Linked DNA regions of Homo sapiens: region 2 is linked to region 1. The links are contacts of gene promoters, found by promoter capture Hi-C in blood cells and fetal thymus (Javierre and others, 2016). All regions are on one chromosome and are shown on one strand. Each heading gives the region's core, a stretch centred on a gene start or on the middle of the fragment in contact. The rest is flanking DNA. Distances are from core to core; before and after follow the strand shown. Region 1 holds the start of CALML5 (calmodulin like 5). Region 2 overlaps ASB13 (ankyrin repeat and SOCS box containing 13).

What was found. The method cuts DNA at HindIII sites, captures the fragments that hold promoters and counts their contacts. A CHiCAGO score of 5 or more calls a contact.
Region 2: a fragment that was not itself captured here is called in contact with the fragment with the promoter of CALML5 in region 1 in 1 of 17 cell types (erythroblasts); the score reaches 5.1 in erythroblasts.

What each region holds. Positions count from the first base shown.
Region 1 is chr10:5,497,882-5,503,103 of GRCh38, reverse strand. It overlaps CALML5 (calmodulin like 5), which reads left to right and starts at 3,534. Exons shown (of 1, transcript NM_017422.5): 1 at 3,534-4,407. The coding sequence starts at 3,666. The coding sequence ends at 4,106. The HindIII fragment of the contact is 4,911 bases long and covers 2,459-5,222 here.
Region 2 is chr10:5,652,250-5,657,286 of GRCh38, reverse strand. It overlaps ASB13 (ankyrin repeat and SOCS box containing 13), which reads left to right. Exons shown (of 6, transcript NM_024701.4): 2 at 4,237-4,424. Among named protein-coding and RNA genes, the nearest start is that of ASB13, 12 kb to the left of the region's middle. The HindIII fragment of the contact is 1,363 bases long and covers 1,670-3,032 here.

The DNA of each region.
Region 1 (5,222 bases), core at 2,285-4,784:
TCCTCCAGGGTGGCAGGGAGAGTTGGCGTCTCCATGAGGGGCTCAGCTGACAGGCGCGGGAGAGGGGAGGAGAGCCCACCTCCAGCACTCAATCACAAAGCTGCCATCTCCCTGCAAACCCCCCCACTTCCCTCTTCTGTGCTGATCACGACCTTCTCTTTCTCACCTGGTCCCTGGATCCTTCTCTGCAAACTTCAGCCTGTCCCTCTGCTGCAGTTCTTCCCAGCCTTCTGCACCTCCCTTAGGCCCCTCGCACACAGCTCCGGGGGCAGCCACCACATTAGGGCTAGCTGGGGTATCTTCCTTCCTCTCACTTCCCTGCTGGGTTTGCTTCGCACATGGCCCCTGGGTCGGGGGAGCTCAGCTGTGGGATGTGGAGCCAGCGGCTGGGCACCCCAGCTTCAGGCTCCTTATGGAGTGGAGGACGGGTGATGCCCTTGGCCCCTGCATCACACAGGGATACACGCAGAAGGCGTCGCCTGAGAATGCACCTTAGCTAGAAAGAAGGGTTTCTCCCTCCTCAAAGCCAGGCTCTGCACCCAACTGCCGTGCTAAACCAGCCAAGGCAGAGGGGCTTGACCAAGCTTGCCTAGATTTGACAACAAATGCCATCTTGTCCCTCTTCGGGAGCCCCCATTTGGGCTGTGCCAGGCCGTCTGTGGTGCGGGTCACTCAGGCATGGCCGTCCTTGGTGTCCCTAGTGCTGAACCCAGAGGAGGGGAGTGGAAACTTCACCCACAGAGGCTGAGCCAAGGCAGCTGACGGCTTGCATACTTGCAAGCCACTTGTGGTGGGAGGCTGAGGGGAGGATGAAAAAAACAATCTCAGTGCTTGTACATGCCCTGAAAAGAGAATGTGTTAGGGAGGAAATGACCCCGGATGGGGAAACACGCAGCGGGAAGTCAGGGGACTTTCCCTATGGACACGGCCTCTCTCCATCTAGAAAACGCACATCGTGAGAATAGTGACCATCATCCTGTCTCGTGATGAGACAGCCTGAGGCTTTTTCTAAATAGGTGCTTCTGCTCTGCATGGAACTGCCTCTGTCTGGAGCTGACACTGAAAAGTCAGCTAATGCTCTGAGCCTTGGCATGTTGGACTTAACTAAACCTCGAGGTGGACGCATTTAATTTTTCCGTTCAATCAAAAGAGGTATAATCACAAAATTGTGAGATTCCCCTTCAAGTAGATGTTTTCCCGAGTGTTGGTTTACATCAAACATGAATCAGCTCGTTATTAACATGAGGTTTATCATAGAATAATAACACCTGCTGCTGGCTCTGTACTTAATATTCTGATCCTACACGCTCCGATCAGATATGGTGGGTGCATCATCCTAGTTTATAGATGTGGATATTGAGACACACGTTTCCACATCACTGACAAAACTGGAACCGGGAGCTCAAGTCTCCTAATATTGTTTGCAAAGTAGTATTTAATACCTGGGGAAAATGACATGAAATAATTATTAAGCCTTTGGATTTTAATCACAGGTCCCATCAACAAGATCAGAAGGAAAGGAAATTTCAACTATAGATTTAAATCTTCAGGTATTCTTTAAGGAAATAAAACAAGGAGCTGGGCTGAATCCAGCTATTCAGAGTCCCGCCCTCCCTGGGCCCCTCACCAGGCAGGATGCTTCTCTGTTCTCATCTCCTGGCCAGAACCACGTTCTCCACCCCAAACCGGTTGTCAATTTCATTGAGAAATTGGTTGCTCAATATTTATTGAGGCCTCTGTATTATTCCACCACTGAGGTGAGCTAGAAAATCTTCAAGCTATCTTTATAAAATGAGTTAGACAACTGGGACACTGCTCTCTGCATCTCTCTGTCTATGCTGGGTCCCCCTGAACTCCGGTGGGGTGACCCCCTTCCTTCCCTCTCCCTGCTGACCATGACCTTCCCTTTTGTACCTGGTCCACGGAGCTCCCTCTCTGCAGACCTCAGCCTCTCCCTCTGCTGTGGTGCTTCCGAGCCCTTTGCACCTCCCTCTGGCCCCTCACATGCAGCTCAGGGAGCAGCTGCCACACTAGGGCTGGCTGGGGCATCTTCCCTCCTCTCACTGCTCTGCCTGGTTTGCCCCTTGTGTGGTCCTGGGGGACTGAGCTGTGGGTCATGGAGTGCGTGGTTGGGCACCCCAGCCTCCGGCTTCCCTTGGAGAATGTGTGCAGCACCAAGGGGCTGGGAGGTGTTTGTCTGGCTGCACTTTAGGGAAGGAGAGGGCACTTGGTCTATTTGATGGGCTGAACAGGAGGGAGGTGGAATGTATAAACTTTCCCAGGGGAATAAAGGAGTTTGTTCCCTGTGTACGGGCAGGGGCTGGGGAGAAGAATGGGAATCTATGGAGATCAGAGGGGACTTGCTTGGGAAAGGCATTTTGGGGACTCCAAGGCAAATGTCCCCTCACAACTGTAGATCACATCAGTGGAAGGACTTGGGGATGGTCCCCCGAAAGCTTAGCTGTTGCTCTAAAAGTTGGTCAAGGCAAGTGGCCCTGGGGGTTTCCTTCCAGAGAACAGATCAGATTGAGGACCCCAGTAGGCTCCCAGATGGGTCTCTGTGCTTAGGGCTGATGCTTAGTAAAACCACAAGGAGGGCCAAGTTTGATGGCAGCCACCTGTTCTGCATCCTCCTGCACCTCTGCCTGCACCTTTGGGGTATGCTGGGCACTGAGGTCCCCCGTGTCTCGCTGCAGCAAAACTCCAGCTGTAACTGTTTGACGCCCTGTGAATGGAACGCCTGCCACTGAGCTCCCAGGGTGTCTGCACAGGGAACCTTGGACTTGGCGATGGAATTGAATTGTAGGAATCCCTGAGCTAGAAGGGAGTATTCTGGGGAGACAAAAAGTCTTTCCCTCTCCTCTGAAACTGCACGTCACATGTTCACTTGATAAACACCATCTCAGCACCAGCTATGGCTCTGAAGGCAGCCCTGGTCCCTTGCTTCCTTGAAGTTATAGGCAGTGAGCCCCATCCTCTGTCTCTAGACCCTGGCCTGGGAATCTCATGATACCCACAGTTGTGCCCTGGCAGAATCAACACTACCACCCACTTCCCTTCCACCAGCCCCAGCCTCAGGGCAAGAGCTAGGCAGTAGCACTGGAGAGAGGGGTACGGAAACACCAAACACTGGGGCCTGCTGTGCCCTTGAGGGAGCCCTCTTCAAGCCACCTCCCCCTCCAGTCTCAGTCTTTGTGAAGTTGCAGAAGCTGTCTTGAACCCCTTGGCTTGGTCAGGATCTCCGAGAATCAGCTGCAGGGGAAACTATCCCTTGGGCAGAATGTTCCTGGAGGGAGGTGGTTGCTATCAAGGCCAGGCGGGGTTGGCAGGCTAGCCATCCGATACCCCGACCCCATGGCAGTTCCCACCTGGCACCTGACAGCTCTCCCAACTCCCATTCCTGCATTTCCTGTCTGCAGCTGATCTGGCCCTCCCTGGGAGGAGGCTCTCACCCCAGGGCATTTGGAGGGTGGGGAGCCTCCCTCCTCCCTTTGTTCCGATTGCAGAAAAGGAGGGGGTTCCCATGCCAAGGCAGAACTGTCTGGGACAGACGCTGCCCGGATCCCTGCGGCTGCCTGCACTCTGGACCACGAGCTCTGAGAGCAGCAGGTTGAGGGCCGGTGGGCAGCAGCTCGGAGGCTCCGCGAGGTGCAGGAGACGCAGGCATGGCCGGTGAGCTGACTCCTGAGGAGGAGGCCCAGTACAAAAAGGCTTTCTCCGCGGTTGACACGGATGGAAACGGCACCATCAATGCCCAGGAGCTGGGCGCGGCGCTGAAGGCCACGGGCAAGAACCTCTCGGAGGCCCAGCTAAGGAAACTCATCTCCGAGGTTGACAGCGACGGCGACGGCGAAATCAGCTTCCAGGAGTTCCTGACGGCGGCGAAGAAGGCCAGGGCCGGCCTGGAGGACCTGCAGGTCGCCTTCCGCGCCTTCGACCAGGATGGCGACGGCCACATCACCGTGGACGAGCTCAGGCGGGCCATGGCGGGGCTGGGGCAGCCGCTGCCGCAGGAGGAGCTGGACGCCATGATCCGCGAGGCCGACGTGGACCAGGACGGGCGGGTGAACTACGAGGAGTTCGCGAGGATGCTCGCCCAGGAGTGAGGCTCCCCGCCTGTGTCCCCCTGGCTGCGCTCTGAGCCTTCAGGGCCACCGCCCGCTGCTGCTTTTGTGCTGGGACTCTCCGGGGAAACCTGGTCGGTGGATGGGAAACTGCCTCCCCCTGGGAGGAAGGCTTTGCGCTCCGGGGCCTGGATGCGGCGCCCTCGGGCCGCCTGCGAGCCCCTCTCTGCCTCCAGACCTTGGGCAGAAGGAGGCCTCCTTGGGCCTGGTCCCCCTTTGCCCTGCAGTGGAATGAGGGCCCCTCAGCCCCGCATTGATCTAAATAAAGGACTGCCGAGTTCCATGTGTGCTTGGTGTTTGTGGGGCGGCTGCCTCCGAGGGCCCCCACCTGCTTCCAGGGTTCCTTCCAGCCCACCCCTCTCACCTGCGGTGGCAGAACTGCCTGGAGCAGGCCCCAGGGGCAGCTCCTGCCTCCCCTGACGCGGAGCAGAGGGCAGGTGGGCAGAGGATGTGTGAGGATGGTGCTGGGCGGTGTCTGTGGCTCCAGGTTCTGCCTGAGCTGCTGGTGAGGACCTGGGCACGTGTCCCGCACAAACAGGAGCGGGCGCCTCGCATGGACAGACGGAGCCCAGCTGCCAGCCTCTGCACGCAGCCTGCCTCTCTTCGGCTGCAAATAATATACGTGTACGTCTGTGTGTGCATCTGTGTGTGTGTCTGTGTGTCTGTATGCGTGTCTCTGTATGTGTGCATCTGTGTGTAAGTCTCTGTATGTTTGTGTGTCTGTGTGTCCTTGTGTGCATCTGCATGTGTATGTGTGTATCTGTGTGTGTGTCTGAGTGTGTCTCTGTGTCTATGTGTCTGTGTGTGTCCATTTGTGTGTGTGTCTTATCTGTGTGTCTGTGTCTGTGTGTGGCTTTGTGTGTGTATCTGTGTGTGTGTGTCTCTGTGTCTATGTGTCTGTGTGTGTTTATCTGTGTGTGTCTGTGTCTGTGTGTGTGTCTGTGTATGTGTTTGTGTGTGTCTGTGTGCCTATCTGTGTGTGTGTGTCTCTGTGTCTATGTGTCTGTGTGTGTTTATCTGTGTGTGTCTGTGTGTGTCTGTGTATGTGTTTGTGTGTGTCTGTGTGCCTATCTGTGTGTCTGTGTGTCTGTGTGTTGT
Region 2 (5,037 bases), core at 1,102-3,601, 160 kb before region 1:
TTCAGATATATGACTTGCAAATATTTTCTCCCATTCTGTGGGTTGCCATTTCACTCTGATTGTGCCCTTTGATGCACGGAAGTTTCTTTTTTCTTTTTTTCTTATCATGTCTGCTGCTAATTTTTGCCCTGAATTGCTGCAGTAAGACTACAGCAGCTGATGTGATTCACTAGAAATAAGTTGCATTTCCTTTGTAGACTGGTGATACAGAGAAATAAAATTAGATTTTCTTTTAAAAATTTTATGTCTAGTTGTAACTGAACCCAGATTTGGCTGCTTACTGCTCAAAAGCCAAATACGAGAGACAAGAGTTGGTGGCAGGTTTATCTGGAGAGCCAGCAAACCAGGAAGATGGTAGATAAGTGTCTAAAGTGCCGTCTAAGTCAGTACAGGTTTCGGGTTCTTAATTATGTTAAGGGCAGTGGGAAAAAGAGGCTGTTGGGATCAAGAGGTAACCAAGGACCAGTGACATCTGGGCACCAGTGAAGGTCCTAGGAGGTTGGGAACATCTTTGTCCTTGATCAGGTCGCAGTGCTCCTATAAATCTTTAACAAAACATAGCTAGTTGTTTACATGCTTTCCTTTTAATCCCAGAGTTAATTTCAAAGCTACACGTTTGCTCTTTTTGCATATTATCTTAATGCTCTAAAATTATCCTAGCCTCTGTGTAAGAATGGATAAAGGCCCCTCAAACAAAAATGTTAGTTCTTTTGCTGTTTCACTGCTACAGACTTTTTTTTTTTTTCTTGAGACGGAGTCTTGCTCGGTTGCCCAGGCTGGAATGCAATGGTGCGATCTCAGCTCACTGCAATCTCCGCCTCCTGGGTTCAAGCGATTCTGCTGCCTCCGCCTCCTGAGTAGCTGGGATTACAGGCACGTGCCACCACGGCCGGCTAATTCTTTGTATTTTTAGTAGAGATGGGGTTTCACCATGTTGGCCAGGCTGGTCTCAAACTCCTGACCTCGTGATCCACCCGCCTTGGCCTCCCAAAGTGCTGGGATTACAGGCTTGAACCACCTTGACCAGTCAGACTTTATAATTGGTTTTAGTAACTCCTTCCATTCATTTACTCATCCACTCACTCACTGAGCAACCACGTGGATACCAGCATCTTCTTGGACAGTGCCAGGTTCTGGGGTACAGAGGTGAATAAGCGGTGCCTGAGATAGACCCGGCTGCAGCTCTGCGGCCTCTGTGACCTTCCCTGGCCATCCCTGGGCACCGGGGCTCTTAATTCTGAGTCCCTGTCACCAGACATGATCGCAGTTGTCATGTTGTGAATTATCTGCGCATTTATTCCCTGGTCCCTGACTGTGAGCTGCCTATTGCTGCATCTTAGTCATCTTTGCGTGTGGCAGCGGAAGACGCTAAATCCACCTGGACGTCTTGTGAATGGAGGCACGTCGGGAACGCGCCTTCCCGGCTCAGGTGGCCTCCTGAGATGCACTTTCTTTTTTTGCTGCAAGACCTAGGCCTTACCCTGCCTTCCTCTTCTTTTTCAAGTGGCAGCCTCTCCTTCTACCCTTAGGATTTTGCTCCCTGCGGATTGATTTTAAAGTGACACTAAGCCACTTCTCACTAACCTCAGGAGGGCAGTGGGTTACTGTTCATTACTACTGGTGGGGCTGAGGGCCACCTGGAGACGGTGAGTAGAAAGTTCCACAAGCTTGACTTTTACATTTTGTGGGGATCGAATCTTCCTTTGTGGTTCAGTTCTCCCTAGTCCCCACTTCCACTGACATAGGGTCACCCGGGCTCTTTGGCTGTGGACAAGACAGATAGCTACAATTGGAGGCAAAAATACTACAAACAGACAGTGTTTATTGAGCACTGATTCGGTGCCAGGCCCCACCCTTTAAGTGCATCTACCTATTTCAATTCACTGAATGTTCATAGTCCACCTATGAAGAGAAACTATTGTTATCACAACTTACAGGTAAAGAAACTGACACTCAGGGAAGTTGTGTTTTGGGTAAGCTGATAAAAGGCTGAGCTGAGTTTCCACCAAGCAGTTCTGAGCAGTTGTGGCTCCAGGGAACTCTTAACCCTGTACTCAGTGCCCAAGGCAGAGGTGGGGGAAGGTGGCAATGTGGGGATCTCTAAAAGCAGAGTCGTCAGCACTAACTGATGAGGCTACCCACCTGCAGAGGAAATTCGATGCAGACACTTTTTTTTTTTTTTTAAAGACAGAGTTTCACTCTTGTTGCCCAGGCTATGGTGCAGTGGCGTGATCTGGGCTCGCTGCAACCTCCGCCTCCCGGGTTCAAGTGATTCTCCTGCCTCAGCCTCCCAAGTGGCGGGGATTACAGGCATGCACCACCACGCCCAGGTAATTTAAAAAAATATTTTTAGTAGAGACGGGGGTTTCACCATGTTGGCCAGGCTGGTTTCGAACTCCTGACCTCAAGTGATCCGCCCGCCTCAGCCTCTCAAAGTGGTGAGATTACAGGCATGAGCCACCGCACCTAGCCCAGATGCACTGTGTAAAAGTAAGATCTGGGGAAGATCCAGGTGATAGGAAGGTTTTTCAGGGACATGTCAGAATAGTAAGAGGAAACTGCTGATTGAGAAGAGGTGTGTGATGTGATCTTGTCTGCTCGAAGATGGAGAGTTGACAATAAGGATATGTCATCAGCTTTCATCCAGCACTGTTGTCATTTGTGACATTTTAAAGTGTCTGGAAGACTCCTCCGTGTCTGAGATGGGTGCTGAGAAAACACGTGCGTGGTTTCTGCATCTGGGGAGTTTACGGTCTGTACCAGTTAGCGAGCTTTTGTCTGCACCTGGTTTAGACAATAAAGAAACATGACTAAGCCCGGCCATTGTCTTGGCTCCAGGCACCTGATGGTCCTTGACTCGTCCTCCAGGTTCCAGTCCTTTCCCGGCTTTGCCATTCCTGTAGGTCCTGTCTTCAGGCAGGTAGCCAGATGGCTCAGCAGGTCCAAGTTCACATCCAGGCAGTATCCAGGGAAGGAAGGGAGACAGCCTTCCCCTGGAGCTCCTTCTTGGGAGTGAGCAGAGTGTGGAAGCTTGGAGGCCTCTTCGCAGACTCTCCCTCACCTCTGCTTAGCTAGAGTTGTGTTGGATGCTGTATGGGAAATAGGATCCCTATGATTGACTGAGACAAAAAAAAAAAAAAAGAAAAAAAGAAGAAAACCCAGTTAACATCGTCCTTAAAGGTGAATGACTAAATGCTCTCCCCCGAGACTAGAAACAAGACAAGGATGTTGGCTCTCACCCCTTTTGTTCCACATTGCACTGCAAGTCCTAGCCAGAGCAATTCAACAAGGAAAAGAAATAAAAGAGCTGGGCGTGGTGGCTCACACCTGTAATCCCAGCACTTTGAGAGGCTGAGGTGGGTGGATCACCTGAGGTCAGGAGTTTGAGACCATCCTGGCCAGTATGGTGAAACCCCATCTCTACTGAAAATAGAAAAATTAGCTGGGTGTGATGGTGTGTGCCCGTAATCCCAGCTACTTGGGAGGCTGAGGCAGGAGAATCGCTTGAACCCGGGAGGCGGAGGTTGCAGTGAGCTGAGATCACACCATTGCACTCCAGCCTGGGTGACAGAGCGAGACTCCGTCTCATAAATAAATAAATAAATAAATAAATAAATAAATAAATAAATGGCATCCACATTAGAAAGGAAGAAGTTAAATGATCTTTGTTTGCAGATGACATGACCTTGTATATAGACAAGCCTGAGGAAGCCACTAAAGTGGAATAATTAAAACAGGGATTCTCAAGGCACTCGAGTGCAGGAGACACTGTAAATGCAGGGGTCTGAGCGTGTGTGCGTGAGCATTGTGGGAAGTGTTTCCCAGAGAAGTTGTTTTACCTGGGCCCACCTGGAGGATGTAAACGTTTCACCAGGAAATTGCAGAGTGGACAATTGGCAGGGGGGCAAAGGTGGGCATGTCAGCAGAGAAGGATGTGCAACTGCAGGGGAGTGGTGAGCACCTGTGCCTGCAGAATATGCAGGGGCAGGGGTGGGAGGTGGACTGTGGAGGTGAGCGGGGTCCACAGGACGGAGCCCCTTGTAGGCCTTGCCCAGGAGCTTGGACTCCAGCTGTCAGGCAGTGGGGGTGGCTCAGGGATCTTTGTAGAAGTGCTGGGACAATTGCATGATCACGGATGGTGCCTTGGTGGCATCAGGGACCCTGGAGTCTTACGTGTGCTCATTTGTCCTGGATGGAAGTGGCAGGGTCTTAGCCTGAGGTCCCCTTCCTTTCCAGGTTTCTGGGTGGAGCGGACCCCTGTGCACGAGGCAGCCCAGCGGGGTGAGAGCCTGCAGCTGCAACAGCTGATCGAGAGCGGCGCCTGCGTGAACCAGGTCACCGTGGACTCCATCACGCCCCTGCACGCAGCCAGTCTGCAGGGCCAGGCGCGGTGTGTGCAGCTGCTGCTGGCGGCTGGGGCCCAGGTGAGTGGCCCTTCAGGGCAGACCCCCAGACTGGCTGCAGCTGCCAGAATGGAGGAGGTTGACTCAGGAGAACTTGGGAAAGAGGGGAGGATGGGGGCTGCACTGTGTCCACTGCACACAGGTACCAGGAAGCCCATGGCTGAGAAGTGCTCGTGGACCTGGCTGTTAGGAGGTCACGGTGGTGGAAGAAAGGGCAGCCTGAGCAAATTGATGATGGGAGTGCCAGCCCTGTGGTGGGCAGGAGCCAGCAGGCTGGCCGCAGCCTAGACACAGGCTCTCTCAGGGGCAGCCAGGCCTGGGTGCAGAGCTGCTGCTTGGGCCCAAAGAGCAGGTTTCCGGCTTTAGGATAACTCAGTGGGATGCTGGCCAGCCAGCTCTCTGAAAAAAGGAACAAAAACAAAACTGTGTTGCTGCTTTCCCTGGTGTAAATGTTCCCACCCTGGCTAGTATTAAGCCACCGGGGGTTTCTGGTCAGCAGAATTCCTGGCACATTGGCAGCCAGCTCTCCCGAGCTGGCAAACACTGGCCCTGCACACCCCTGGCCAATGTATAAGTGACACAGGGACCTGGTCTCAGAGTTCAAGGGGTGAGGAAGAAGGGAAGACAGTGTACT